Linked DNA regions of Homo sapiens: regions 2 and 3 are each linked to region 1. Evidence: promoter capture Hi-C in human tissues and cell types (Jung and others, 2019). All regions are on one chromosome and are shown on one strand. Each heading gives the region's core, a stretch centred on a gene start or on the middle of the fragment in contact. The rest is flanking DNA. Distances are from core to core; before and after follow the strand shown.

Region 1 (4,904 bases), core at 792-3,291:
ACCAGCCTGGGTGACATAGCAAAACCCCATCTCTGCTAAAAATACAAACTTTAGCCAGGCATGGTGCCTGTGGTCCCAGCTACTTGGTAGGCTGAGGTGGGAGGATTGCTTGAGCCCAGGAGCTGGAGGTTGCAGTGAGCCAAGATCACGCCACTACTCTCCAGCCTGGGCAACAGAGTGAGACCCTGCCAAAAACAAAACAAAACAAAACAAAATGGTTCTTGGGTTCTCAACAAGCACAGACTGGTGACCCAGTTGCTTGGATCTGGGATGACCCTGGAAAGTGTTGCACAGCAGGTCAACAGGAGCTCAATTTTCAGAGTGGACAGGTACCCAAAGGCTGGTGTGGCCTCTCACTCACCCTCCTCCATGGTGTCACCTACTTCCACAAAGAGGTTGAGACTCAGTTAAAAAACAAGCAGCCAATAAAACTGCTAGTTATAAAGCACAAAATGGGTGGAAGGGGGGAACTTGGCTTTGAAAGAATAGTATAAGTGGAATCAAGTGAGAAAGCACCTTCCAGAAAATCACCCAAGCCCTGTACTTCAGGGGTATAATATATTAAATATGCCAAGTGGTTGTTAAAGAGTTGTCTAGCTTACACAGAGCTGACCTAATTATCTCGTTATCTTATTTTACTCCAATGAATGGGATATTTTACCAGGACCCCGTAAGTCAGGTCCTGCAATTGCAAAGACAATCCAAAATCGTGAAGACTATTTTCACCTGCCCAAGGAAAGAAAACTTTTAAAATATTTTGTGCCGCTCACATCCATGGTCCCATGAAGGAACTCAAGACTGAGGCCCTAAGCCCAAGATGATCTTGACAAACCAAAATCACACTGAGGGAAGGTCAGTTTAGGTAAAGAAAGCAAACAGGCAATCTTACACTGGGAAAAACTTTTCCAGGAAAAAGTATGATAGAATCAGAAGGAAGTTGGAGAAAAAAAGGAAATATAGGAGGGAAAAAAGCTTTCATTTCAAACTTGGAAAAACTTGATATACAGATGCAGTTAAGCTGAGACAAAGCATTGCACTAATTTTTTAATCTTCCCATTTTTTATTAAGTCAGTAACATCCTGCAGTGAATAAGAATTTCATATTGAGTATACAGTAGTCCTCATTTATCCTACAGGGAGTACATTCCAAAACTCTCAGTGGAATGAAACGATGGAGAGTCCTGAAACCTATATATATTGGTTTTTTGTTATTGTTGTTGTTTTAATTTTTTTCCTGAATCATGCAATCTCTTTTGCGGTTTCGGAGACAAGAAAGAGAAGGGTGATTCTCGGCTGCAAAGTCCTATCAGGAATTCATTTATTCCCAGTATAGTCAACTTTGCAGTGAGTCACAAGGCTTCAACTGTCTTAAGGCAAATTCCCAAACACCAGTAAATAGAAGCCCAAAACTGAATCTGTAGTTTCTTGTCCGTGGACTAGTGGACGGAGCACCTGGCTGAGTGTTCACCTCTGATCCATAATAGTGTGGAAATACTCTCTCTCTCTCCTTCTCCCACAGATGCACTCACAAACGGATACAAAGACACCCACATTCACTCGCAATGAAACCTTTTCCAAACACCACCCTACACTTAAACTCCCCAAAGCCAAACTCCCCTCTCCAACACTCCTATTGGTTTTCCAAAAGACATTTCCAAAATTCACAGCACCTCTCCACGTCCAAAGCTATGGTGCGTTTGGGGAACGAAACGAGAGGCAAATGCCTTCTGTGCGAAATCGGTTTGCGGCTTTTAGGGAGCCCGAGCGCAAGCAACAGCCGGAGGGGCTCGCAGGGACGCAGGTTGGGCTCGGATACCCAGCGCCTCCGCGCTGCCGCGGCTCCCCGCGCCCAGCCTGGCCGCACAGCTCAGCGCCCGACCCGCCGCCGCCGGCGCAGGCGCGCGGGCCGGGGCAGCTTACCTGAAGCTGGGTCCGGCGCCTGGCTGACCGCGCTGCTGTGGGCACTGGCTGGGCGCGGCGTCCGCCTCCGCACGCGGCCTCGGCTGCGCCGGCCGCCCTGCACCCTACCCACCGCGCGTCCTGGTGCGGAGGGCGGACCCGGCAGTATTTAGAGAAGGAGGCGGTGCTGCGCGGGCGCGGCGGCCCGGGGAGGGCAGGGCAGGGCAGTGCAGGAGCGACCGGTGGGAGCTGGCCGCCACTGGGGGCCCGGGGCGCGCCCGCGAGGGAATGGAGAGCCAGGGGCGGCTTCGGAACCCAGGGCTGGCGGGTTTGGCAGCCTCCGCGCTCGTGGCCGTGCGCGCGAGGAATCTGGGAGAAATGGGCACCTTCCACGGCTGCCTGGCCCGCACACCTGGCGGGGCCGGCGAGTTGAGATGCCCCCGCCGGCTGGCGGAACTGTGCGCCCCGCCCGCCGAGGCCCGCTCCCCCTCGAGGCCTGAGGCCCAGTTCTATAGGGGCGCGAGAGAGCGGCGGCGTGGGGGGCGCGGAGGAAGCGCCGGCCCCCGCCTCCACCGCCTCCTTCGTGGTTGCGGCCCAGGCCGAACAGGGTACCGTGCCCCGGCCGCCTTGGCCTTGGCCACCGCGAGGTCCGGGGCGACTACACCCAGCAGCCCTGTGGCCCTCCTACTGCTCTGGAGACCTGGAGTGGGGTTACAGAGGGAAGCGACTCGCTGCGAGCTCCCCATCGAATATGGAGCCACCAGGTCACGGGACGACGTGCGCTCTACAGAATGTGAGACAAGGGCCCTCCACACCCAGCCATTCAGGCCTGAGGTCCTGGCTCCGAGACTGAGGCCGAGACGCGGCAAGCCCCGCGCCGGACCAGCTCTGCCCCTCCCGCACCCACGTGTCTGCGCACAGCCCTCCTTTGCGATAGAACCCCCTTCCTGGTTCTCCACCACTAATGATCTGCCGGAATTAAACTGGTAACTTTCCCTGCCCTTGAACCGGGAGTTTCGGGATGAGTTTGCCAATCCCTGTGCTATTTGTAACCAGCCCCGTGACACGTGATACGGATCCAACTGTGCTAGTTTCCACACCAGGGGTCAGGGCACGGTGGAAGGTGAGTCAAGGGTTCTCTGCCCAAGCGCAGAGGTGCCCTGAGCCACGGGGACTTCCCAGCCCTGCCTTCTCTTCTCAGCTTCCTGTCTGCCTTGCCTGAAACCCTATCTAGAGTTAAGGCCAATGGATGAAACTTTTCAATGTGCAAGCAAGCACTTTACCTACCTGATACAACAAGAGATTCCTGGTCATGCTCACTGAAGGTAAAGTATGAAGCAGGCTTAGCTAATCATCAGAGGTGAGAAGAGACTTAAAGAACCAGTCAGAGAGGTAAAGAGGGGAGGGGGTTACCTGGGCTTTAGGGTTCACCAGGGAGGCAGAACGGACAAGTTCTTGCCATTGGAATTTGGTGGGGCACTTGCCTGGGTGGCCAAAGGTGGACTTTTTCATAGCCAGGGTGCCCGACCTCTGTAAATCCCCGCCATAACTAACAGCCCTGATTACTGTCGAAATGAACAATGCCAACACTCACGACCCCTTGCTTTGTGGTTCTTTGCTACATCTCTCCAGCAGTTCAGAAAAGGTTGGAGGCAGCAGGGGACAGGAGACTGAGAAAAACAGTCATTTGTCAGTTGAGGAAACTGAGGTCCAGGCTGACAGAGGTAAAGTAACCTCTGCAGCTGGTTGACATGCAGAGAAGGCCTGAGCCAGATGCAGATGCGCTGACCATTCAGTGTTTCTCCCGCAGCACACCTGTCACTCAGAGAACACACCATGCTGTGAACCCAGAAAACGCCCTCATGGCCTTGTGATGCCAAGCACGTTTAGATTATTATAACAATACAGGCACTGTGTCCCAAGGACATTGCAGTAATCTATGTTTGGGGTGGAGATATCCTTCCTGGTCCAAGTGTCAAGGTATACCACCTTCTGGAAGGGCACCAAAGCATGTCCAGCGAATGGGCAGATACCCAAGAGTGGATTGTACAACAGCAGGCACTGGCTTTCTAAGAACTCAGGCCCTCATTATAGGATTTGTCCCCTCTGACACAGGCCTGTGAACAACTCTTCATTGTGCAAAAGGGTTTCCTTGTCCTTTCCCTACTCATTCTTCCCTTCCCCCTTATTTGAAACTGAATCTCTGGCCATGTCATGTGCAGGCCTGCAAGGGGCCTGTTGATACAGCTGCCCCTCTGGTGCCACATGACTGCAGGCTCACCACCCATGACAGACTTGAATATCCTGGCACCAAGGACAATCAGATTAGCCTCCACTTGGTATATCTGCTGTTCTCACTGTTTGTGTCTATGAGAGCCTGTTTGACTAAATTAAACTCCTTGGAAATTGATCATCGATTATGTATGAAAGACATACCCACCAGCCTTTGAGGTACTTATCTTTGTAGCCCACCTAGCCTTAGGAGAGAAGCTGCGTGGCCTGGTCACTATCTAGTGGTCTTCCCTGGCCTGTGTGGTAGTGAAAAAGATAAAAGCCAGACCGAATCCTTAGAAAAACAGCATCAGAACAAGATTAAAAACCTCGAATTCAGTGACTGTAGAAGCATAAAGCAGAGGCATGTGTTCATGTATTTAGCCAGCACAGATTTACCAACTACCAATAAAACACGGAACTTGTATTTTATTGAGGAGAAAGGCAATAAAATATGTAAGTTATACAGAGAATTAGAAAGTGATTGAGTGCCAGGGAGAACAATAAATCACAGATGGGGACTGGGGAGCACCCCATTTTAAATAGGGGAGTTAAGGAAGGCATCTCTGAGAAGGTGAGATTGCAGCAAAAACTTGAAGGGAATGAGGAAGCAAGTGTATCAATGATCTATTATTGCATAACAACTTACCCCAAAACTTTGAAGTTTGAAACAGCAAAAATGTATTCTCAGGGTTTCTGATCAGGGTCAGAAACTGCAAGTGGCTTAGCTGGGTA
Region 2 (4,904 bases), core at 912-3,411, 89 kb before region 1:
CTTTATTTCTCTCTCTTGCCTGATTGCCCTGGCCAGAACTTCCAATGCTATGTTGAATAGGAGTAGTGAGAGAGGGCATTCTTGTCTTGTGCTGGTTTTCAAAGGGAATGCTTCCAGCTTTTGCCCATTCAGTATGATATTGGCCGTGGGTTTGTCATAAGTAGCTCTTATTATTTAGAGATATGTTCCATCAATACCTAGTTTATTGAGAGTTTTTAGCTTGGAGGGGTGTTTAATTTTGTTGAAGGCCTTTTCTGCATGTATTGAGATAATCATGTGGTTTTTGTCATTGGTTCTGTTTATGTGATGGATTATGTGTATTGATTTATATATGTTGAACCAGCTTTGCATCCCAGGGATGAAGCTGACTTGATGGTGGTGGATATGCTTTTAGATATGTTGCTGGATTCAGTTTGCCAGTATTTTATTGAGGATTTTTGCATCGATGTTCATGAGGGATATTGGCCTGAATTTTTCTTTTTTTGTTGTGTCTCTGCCAGGTTTTGGTATCAGGATGATGCTGGCCTCATAAAATGAGTTAGGGAGGAGTCCCTCTTTTTCTATTGTTTGGAATAGTTTCAGAAGGAATGGTACCAGCTTGTCTTTGTACCTGTGGTAGAATTCGGCCATGAATCCATCTGGTCCTGAGCTTTTTTTGGTTGGTAGGCTATTAATTACTGCCTCAATTTCAGAACTTGTTATTGGTCTATTCAGGGATTTGACTTCTTCCTGGTTTAGTCTTGGGAGGGTGTGTGTGTCCAGGAATTTATCCATTTCTTCTAGATTTTCTAGTTTATTTGCATAGAGATGTTTATAGTAGTCTCTGATTATAGTTTGTATATCTGTGGGATCAGTGGTGATATCCCCTTTATCATTTTTTATTGTGTCTACTTGATTTTTCTCTGTTTTCTTCTTTATCAGTCTGGCTGGCAGTCTATCTATTTTGTTAATCTTTTCAAAAAAACAGCTCCTGGATTCATTGAATTTTTGAAGGGTTTTTCGTGTCTCTGTCTCCTTCACTTCTGCTCTGATCTTAGTTATTTCTTGTCTTCTGCTAGCTTTTGAATTAGTTTGCTCTTGCTTCTCTAGTTCTTTTCATTGGGATGTTAGGGTGTCGATTTTAGATCTTTCCTGCTTTCTCCTGTGGGCATTTAGTGCTATAAATTTTCCTCTAAACACTGCTTTAGCTGTGTCCCAGAGATTCTCACACGTTGTGTCTTTGTTCTCATTGGTTTCAAAGAACTTATTTATTTCTGCCTTCTTTCGTTATTTACCCAGTAGTCATTCAGGAGCAGGTTGTTCAGTTTCCATGTAGTTGTGCAGTTTTGAGTGGGTTTCTTAATCCTGAGTTCTAATTTGATTGCACGGTGGTCTGATAGACTGTTTGTTATGATTTCTGTTCTTTTGCTGAGGAGTGTTTTACTTCCAATTATGTGGTCAGTTTTATAATAAGTGTGATGTGGTGCCAAGAAGAATGTATATTCTGTTGATTTGAGGTGGAGAGTTCTATAGATGTCTATTAGGTCCACTTGGTCCAGAGCTGAGTTCTAGTCCTGAATATCCTTGTTAATTTTCTGTCTTGTTGATTTGTCTAATATTGACAGTGGGGTGTTAAAATCTCCCACTATTATTGTGTGGGAGTCTAAGTCTCTTTGGAGGTCTCTAAGAACTTGCTTTATGAATCTGGGTGCTCCTGTATTGGGTGCATATATATTTAGGATAGTTAGCTCTTCTTGTTGCATTGATCCCTGACCATTATGTAATGTCTTTCTTTGTATTTTTTTTATCTTTGTTGGTTTAAAGTCTGTTTTATCAGAGACTAGGATTGCAACCTCTGCTTTTTTTGCTTTCCATTTGCTTGGTAAATATTCTTCCATCCCTTTATTTTGAACCTATGTGTGTCTTTGCACATGAGATGGGTCTCTTGAATACAGCACACCAATGGGTCTTGACTCTTTATCCAATTTGCCAACCAGTGTCTTTTAATTGGGGCATTTAGCCCATTTACATTTCAGGTTAATATTTTTATGTGTGAATTTGATCCATCATTATGATGCTAGCTGGTTATTTTGCCCATTGGTTGATGCAATTTCTTCATGGTGTAGATGGTCTTTACAATTTGGCATCTTTTTGTAGTGGCTGGTGCAGGTTTTTCCTTTCCATATTTAGTGCTTCCTTCAGGAGATCTTGTAAGGCAGGCCTGGTGGTGACAAAATCTCTCAGCATTTGCTTGTCTGTGAAGGATTTTATTTCTCCTTTGTTTTTGAAGCTTAGTTTGGCTGGATATGAAATTCTGGGTTGAAAATTACTTTCTTTAGGAATGTTGAATATTGGCCCCCCACTTTCTTCTGGCTTGTAGGGTTTCTGCCAAGAGATCTGCTGTTAGTCTGATGGGCTTCCCTTTGTGAGTAACCCAACCTTTCTCTCTGGCTGCTCTTTTTCCTTCATTTCAACCTTGGTGAATCTGACAATTATGTGTCTTGGGATTACTCTTCTCGAGGAGTATCTTTGTGGTGTTCTCTTTATTTCCTGAATTTGAATATTGGCCTGTCTTGCTAGGCTGGGGAAGTTCTCCTGGATGATATCCTGAAGAGTGCTTTCCTAGTTGGTTCCATTCTCCCCATCACTTTCAGGTACACTAATCAAACATAGGTTTGGTCTTTCCACATAGTCCCATATTTCTTGGAGGCTTTGTTCATTCCTTTTCATTCTTTTTTCTCTAATCTTGTCTTCATGCTTTATTTCATTAAGTTGATCTTCAATCTCTGATATCCTTTCTTCTGCTTGATCGATTTGGCTATTCATACTTGTGTATGCTTCAGGAAGTTCTCATGCTGTGTTTTTCAGCTCCATCAGTTCATCTATGTTCTTCTCTAAACTGGTTATTCTAGTTAACAATTCCTCTAACCTTTTTCAAGTTTCTTAGCTTCCTTGCATTGGGTTAGAACATGCTCCTCTAGCTCATAGGAGTTTGTTATTACCCACCTTCTGAAGTCTACTTCTGTCAATTTGTCAAACTCATTCTCCATCCAGTTTTGTTCCCTTGCTGGCAAGGAGTTGTGATCCTTTGGAGGAGAAGAGGCATTCTGGGTTTTGCAATTTTCAGCTTTTTTTGTGGTGGTTTTTCCTTATCTTCGTGGATTTATCTACCTTTGGTCTTTGATGTTGGTAAGCTTCGGATGGGGTTTTTGTGTGGACAACCTTTTTGTTGATGTTGATGCTATTCCTTTCTGTTTGTTAGTTTTCCTTCTAATAGTCAGGCCTCTCTGCTGCAGGTCTGCTAGAGTTTGCTGGAGGTCCACTCCAGACTCTGTTTGCCTGGGTATCACCCATGGAGGCTGCAGAACAGCAAAGACTGCTGCCTGTTCCTTCCTCTGGAAGCTTCATCCCAGAGGGGCACCTGCCAGATGCCAGTTGGAGCTCTCCTTTATGAAATGTCTGTCGACCCCTGCTGGGAGGTATCTCCCAGTCAGGAGGCACAGGGGTCAGGGACCCACTTGAGGAGGCAGTCTGTCCCTTAGCAGAGCTCAAGTACTGTGCTGGGAGATCTGCTGCTCTCTTCAGAGCTGGCAGGCAGGAACGTTTAAGTCTGCTGAAGGTGCACCCACAGCTGCCCCCTTACCCCAGGTGCTCTGTCCCAGGGAGATGGGAGTTTGATTTATAAGCCCCTGACTGGGTCTACTGTCTTTCTTTCAGAGATGCCCTGCCCAGAGAGGAGGAATCTAGAGAGGCAGTCTGGCTACAGCAGCTTTGCCAAGCTCCTGGGCTCCACCCAGTTCAAACTTCCCGGCGGGTTTGTTTACACTGTGAGGGGAAAACCACCTACTCAAGCCTCAGTAATGGTGGACGCCCCTCCTCCCACCAAGCTCCAGCATCCCAGGTCGACTTCAGACTGCTGTGCTGGCAGGGAGAATTTCAAACCAGTGGATCTTAGCTTGCTGTGCTCCATGGGGGTGGGATCCAGTGAGCTAGACCACTTGGCTTTCCTGGCTTCAGCCCCCTTTTCAGGGGGTTAACGTTTCTGTCTCACTGGCATTCCAGGTGCCACTGGGGTATGAAAAAAAAACTCCTGCAGCTAGCCCAGTGTCTGCCCAAATGGCTGCCCTGTTCTGTGCTTGAAACCCAGGGCCCTAGTGGTGTAGGCACCCGAGGGAATTTCCTGGCCTGTGGGTTGTGAAGACCATGGGAAAAGCGTAGTATCTGGGCCAGAATGCACCATCCCTCACGGCACAGTCCCTCACGGCTTCCCTTGGCTAGGGGAGGGAGTTCCCCGACCCCCTGTGCTTCCCGGGTGAGGCGACAGCCCACCCTGCTTCTGCTCACCCTCTGTGAGCTGCATCCATTCACTGTCTAACCAGTGCCAATGAGATGAGCCAGGTACCTCAATTGGAAATGCAGAAATCACCCGCCTCCTGCGTTGATGTCACTGGAAACTGCAGACCAGACCTGTTCCTATTTGGCCATCTTGCCAGCCCTCTTCTTTCTTCTTTTTTGCCTTCCACCAACATTTGCTACCAGGCAAGTGGAAGTAGGTGTCATAGGTTGGAGAAAATCTTTTGGAAGATAACAAATTTGAAATCAACAAAGCACTCTACACAGAATAATGGCCTTCCCCAAATGTCCACTTCCTAATGCCCATAACCTGTGAATAAGTTACCTCACAAGGCAAGAAGGACTTTGCAGATGTAATTAAGTTATAGATCTTGAGATGAGGAGATTATCCTGGATTAGCTGGATGGGCCCTATGTAATCACAAGGCTCTTGATAAGTGGAAGATGGAGGCAGGAGAGTTAGGGTCAGAGAAAGATTTGAAGATGCTAAGCTGCTGGCTTTGAAGATGAAGGGAGATGGTGAGTCAAGGAATGTAGGAAGCCTCTAGAAGTTGAGAAAAGAACACCTTTTGG
Region 3 (4,904 bases), core at 782-3,281, 71 kb before region 1:
TGTTAGAATAATTTCAAGGATGGCTATTGCCCTAGAAAGCAAGAACCCTCCAGAACTAGTTTCATCCTTTCTATACTTTCACCACAGGCTAAGCATGGTATCCCCAGCCTTATCAAGTCAAATTTTAAACTGCTTAATGCCACCTCCCTCTGTCCACCCCCACATCATGCTGATTTTATAAGGAGATTGCCTGTATTTAAATCCAGCTCTATTACTTACTACCTGTGTGTACCTGTGTGAAAACTGGTAAGGTTTTTTTGTTTGGTTAGTTTTTGGTTTTTGAGACAGAGTCTCGCTGTGTTGCTCAGGCTAGAGTACAGTGGTGTGATCTTGGCTCTCTGCAACCTCCACCTCCCAGGTTCAAGCAATTCTCGGCCTCAGCCTCCTGAGTAGCTGGGGTTACAGGCGCTCACCACCATGCCTGACTAATTTTTGTATTTTTAGTAGAGATGGGGTTTCGCCATGTTGGCCAGGCTGGTCTCACACTCCTGGCCTCAAGTGATCCACCTGCTTGAGCCTCCCAAAGTGCTGAGATTACAGGTGTGAGCTATTGTGCCTGGCCCCAAGAGCTCTTTTTGGAGTTAAGAAATTTCCATCAAGTGAGGACACTTTGGAAGGAAAACTCCTGGAAAATAGGGCTTTCCCGGCATCCTTGGAGTTGAACAGAGCTGAAGTTGGCCAGAACTGCCATGGGAAACCATGGGAGAATTTACTAAGAGAGTCTTTAGTCCTAGATCACAGGGAGGGGAGATATAAACAGGACTGCCCATATCACGTGCTAATTATGTCCCAGGCATTATATCCTTTGATTCTCCCAATAAACCTATGCCATAAACAGTAGCATCAATTTCATTTCACAGATGTGGACATTGACACTTTACCGAGGGCAAGAACCTTGCCCAAGTGTATTAGTCCATTCTCCTACTGCTATGAAGAAATACTTGAGACTGAGTAATTTATAAAGAAAAGACGTTTAATTGACTCACAGTTCCACATGGCTGGGGAGGCCTCAGGAAACTTACAATCATGGCAGAAGGTGCCTTTTCACAGTGCAGTAGGAGAGAGAATGAGTGCCAGCAGGGGAAATGCCAGACGCTTATAAAACCATCAGATCTCATGAGAACTCACTCATTAGCTCTAGAACAGCATGGGAGAAACTGGCTCCATGATTCAATTACCTCCCACCAGGTTCCTCCCACAGCACGTGGGGATTATGGGGATTATAATTCAAGGTAAGATTTGGGTGGGGATGCAGCCAAACCCTATCATCAAGGCTATATATAGCACAGTGGTAGAGCAAAACTTTGAGCCCATTTTGACTCCGGAACTTATTTTCTTAATCACTATTCTAGGTCCTTAAAGAAAAGGACTGAACTGGAACCTTACAGTTCAAATATATCCTGCTAAAAGTATTAGTTATCTCCTGATCCATGAAACAAGCACACATCATGGCCCGGTGATAGAGAGCCTGTCAGATCAGGCTGTGGGGAACAGGAAGGAGACCAGGCTCGCCCTGCTGGTTTTCACTGGTGAAGGCAGTAAAATCGGAGATAGACCGGAGCCTGCAATAATACCACTGCCACCATTTATGGAGCGCCGTGCTAAACAGCAGCTGAGTCTCACAGCAACATTAAGAGGCTGGGACTATTAACCCCACTTGTCGGATCAAAGAGACAGAGGCATGACAATTTTCAGGGACGTGTTCACAGCCACTCAGCCAGTCAGGGGCCAAGTCTTTTGGCTACAGGAAATTGGCTGCTCTGCTCCTACTGCCTGTGGACCAGAGACCTGGTGACTGCACATGAGTGTTAGGCCACCCGAGGACCCAGACTGTGAACTCAGCCTGCATTCTGGCTCACCAGGACAGTTTCGGGAGCCCTCTTTGACTATTGCCTTTGACAAGGCTGAAGATGGGCTAAGACCAGAATCCTCAACCAAATTTAAAACTACTTAAGCTTGGAATATTCCGTTCTTTTCTGTGGCTGTAAGTCTCCCTCTCAGCACCCAGAGCCTTTCTCCTGACTGGTGGCTGCCTGCATGGTTTGCCAACGCAGCATCCACTCTGCATTTGTTCCACAAAGCGCTGCTAAGTGCCTCCTTTGTGCCTAACACTGGGCCTTTGGTGGAGATCAGACGGCCATTTGACCTGGGGCCCTACCTTGAGCAAGGATGAGGCCACATTGGAAATGCTGATTTTGCCCATAAACTCATGCTCCAAGTTGTTTCACAGTAATTAAAAATTCAGCAAAGGAAAAAAAATTCCCAGCAGACACCATAGGTGGGAAACCTCTGTGTAGAAGCTGGTGAAAAACCAATCCTCCAGTTCTAATGGCACCTGGATCTGAGAAAGAAAGGGACTTGGACTCCACAGACAGGGGGCAGAGACTTTATGAGTCATCCCGGTGAGGATAATGGGCATTGAAACACGGCTTTGCAAACTCTGAAGTGATGCATGAGTGTTTGTTGGTTGCTATTTTAATTACATAAAATACATATCTAAGACAATATCCAAGAAATGAAGATTAGGAACTAGAGCAGATTAACAGGAGAGAAATCTGGGATCATGTAAACTGTTCAGGAGCCCCAAATAATAGAATGTCTTATTTTTTTTTTTACCCAGTCTACAGGCAACCCTAGTCACAGGAGGCTGGTGTGAGGGCCACTTTCTAGATTTCCTTTTGACATGTCTTTTTTTTCCTAGAAGGCATCCCCATCTCCCTATTGTCCTCTGCTAACTCTTTGCATCTCCACCTCCACCTAGGACTATGAAATATGTCTTTGCAGGTCATACTCAGCACAGCTACAGGGAGTGCCATTCACATCAAAGTCTACATGAATGAGACCACTGGGCCTTAAACTCAGCTGCATGTTGGAAACATTTGGAGGAAATTTAAACATTATTGATGTCTTAGTCCCTCCTCCAGGTTGTCTGATGTAATTGTTCTGAGTTGCATCCTGGCTTGGGATTTTTTTAAATGCCCAAGTAATTCTAATATGCACCCACCATGTTTGAGAACCAGTAAATTAGACTATGCTGTGAATGGTGCCCACTGAGGATGTGTGGTAGATAGTCTGCATAGCCCTTCAGATGAGCCCCGCCCACCCCAGCTGGCCTGATGCAATCCCCAGTGACCTGAACTTGCTAATGGAACAGATCACAGACTAAATACATACCTCTCTGCCTTTTACGTTGTTTTCCCTTGGGTCGGGATTGGGGTTTGGGAAAGTGTAGGGACTGAACTGTGATCCTTTAAGGAATCCCTTACACTTTCTGCATCCTTCTGAGGAATGAAGGAGAGGCAAGGGTCTAATCCTGCTGAAAAACTGGGAATTTTTTCAAGGCCAGTTTTGGAGGCTGCCCAACTCTGGTGCTCTGCCCAGGGTGAGCATGCTGTTTTGATCGCCTGACTAAGAGAGTGATTTAGGCTTTTGGAAGAATCTGGCTCATTTCCCCCGGTACCTCAGCCATTCCCGGCTTGTAAATCAGCCACCTTTAGCAGCTGCATTTTACTTTCCCAGGCCACAAGGGAACTGTGTAGTTTTTACTGAATTAGCAACTTAATTGCACCAAATATAGCTCTAATGCTCCCAAAGAACTCGTGGCAGCTCCCAAAGGTGTCTGGCTTCCTGCTCTTCCTCCCTCCCATCCTGTCCCCACCAAACTCAGGGACCAGGTTAAATTCTGGAAAATTCGAGCTTATTAAGTCACAGCCTCTGGAATGAACTTACTTTACTTTGTTTATGTCAAATCTTGCCATATGAATTTAATGTCACTGTGTCCATAACAACTGATGTCCTTCAAGTAGGAAGATGGGGGATCAAAAAAAATCCCACAAAAATCCAGCCATATGAGACAAATATGTGATACAAACAAGTCCTTGGTGTCATGGTTTAGTTAAAGCTTGCCTATTTTACAGCTCAGATGCTCTGTAACTCATTGACAGCTCTCCTGCTGATAAGTGCATCTGTTATTCTAAAGTTACAAGTCAAACTTCTTTAGCCAAAACCTTGCATCTGTCATGTGTATTTATACTTGGCATTTCAAAGTTAATATTTTTGGTTCAGCAGAGGAATTCAAAACAAACATTTTTTCTTAAATTCCAAATTCTTGAGCAGTTATTTGAATCCAGACAGAAGGAAGAGAGAGACAGAGAAACAGAGAGACAGAGAGAGAGGACCAAGTATGGAACAGGCTGCTAGTTGCCTACCTAACAATTATTCTACCCTTTTCCCTTTGTAACAGAACAGCAACCAAGAAGACTACATTTCCCAGACTCCTGCGCAGCTTAGTGTGGCCATCTGGCCAAATTCTGGTCAGAAGGTGGAAGTGTTAAGTACAGCATGGATCTTTCAGGAAGGCTTTCTTTAAGAGAGTTGAATCAGGTGTGAGGTATGCTCTTTTTTTCCTGTCTGTTTCTCTTTCCTTCTGCTTCGAGCATGGACATAATGCTGGAGCTTCAGCAGCCATCTTAGACCATAAGGTGACTTTCAAGAGGAAAGCCACATGCTGAAGGAAGATGGCACAGGAGGAAGATAGGAGCCTAGGCCACTGAGGACAGAGGGAGCAGTGCTTTAATACCTACCTCTAGACTTCCTTTATGTGACAGAGAAGTAAACTGATCTTCTTTAAGTTAAAGTTATGTTGAGTTTTTAGTTATATGAGAACAAATCTAGGTCGGGTGCTGTGGCTCACGCCTCTAATCCCAGCACTTTGGGAGGCTGAGGCAGGCAGATCACTTGAGGTCAGGAGTTCGAGACCAGCCTGGCCAACATGGTGAAACCCCAATCTCAACTCAAAATTAGCCAGGCATGGTGGCGTGCGCCAGAAATCCCACTATTCGATAGGATGAGGCAGGAGAACTGCTTGAACCTGGGAGGTGTAGGTTGCAGTGCGCTGAAATCAC

What was found. The method cuts DNA at HindIII sites, captures the fragments that hold promoters and counts their contacts. A contact is called where the count stands out against the background at its distance.
Region 2: a fragment that was not itself captured here is called in contact with the fragment with the promoter of TMEM171 in region 1 in 4 of the 25 tissues and cell types used here (H1 embryonic stem cells, IMR-90 fibroblasts, bladder and 1 more).
Region 3: a contact is called between a fragment that was not itself captured here and the fragment with the promoter of TMEM171 in region 1, in 4 of the 25 tissues and cell types used here (IMR-90 fibroblasts, aorta, dorsolateral prefrontal cortex and 1 more).

Annotation. Positions count from the first base shown.
Region 1 is chr5:73,117,712-73,122,615 of GRCh38, reverse strand. It overlaps TMEM171 (transmembrane protein 171), which reads right to left and starts at 2,041. Exons shown (of 4, transcript NM_173490.8): 1 at 1,920-2,041. LOC124901001 reads left to right here and starts at 2,125. Exons shown (of 2, transcript XM_047417978.1): 1 at 2,125-4,904. The coding sequence starts at 2,187. The coding sequence ends at 2,888. RefSeq lists an enhancer at 2,651-3,202. The HindIII fragment of the contact is 7,583 bases long and covers 1-4,904 here.
Region 2 is chr5:73,206,336-73,211,239 of GRCh38, reverse strand. No RefSeq gene overlaps it. Among named protein-coding and RNA genes, the nearest start is that of TMEM174, 36 kb to the right of the region's middle. The HindIII fragment of the contact is 6,658 bases long and covers 1-4,904 here.
Region 3 is chr5:73,188,503-73,193,406 of GRCh38, reverse strand. No RefSeq gene overlaps it. Among named protein-coding and RNA genes, the nearest start is that of TMEM174, 18 kb to the right of the region's middle. The HindIII fragment of the contact is 4,970 bases long and covers 1-4,516 here.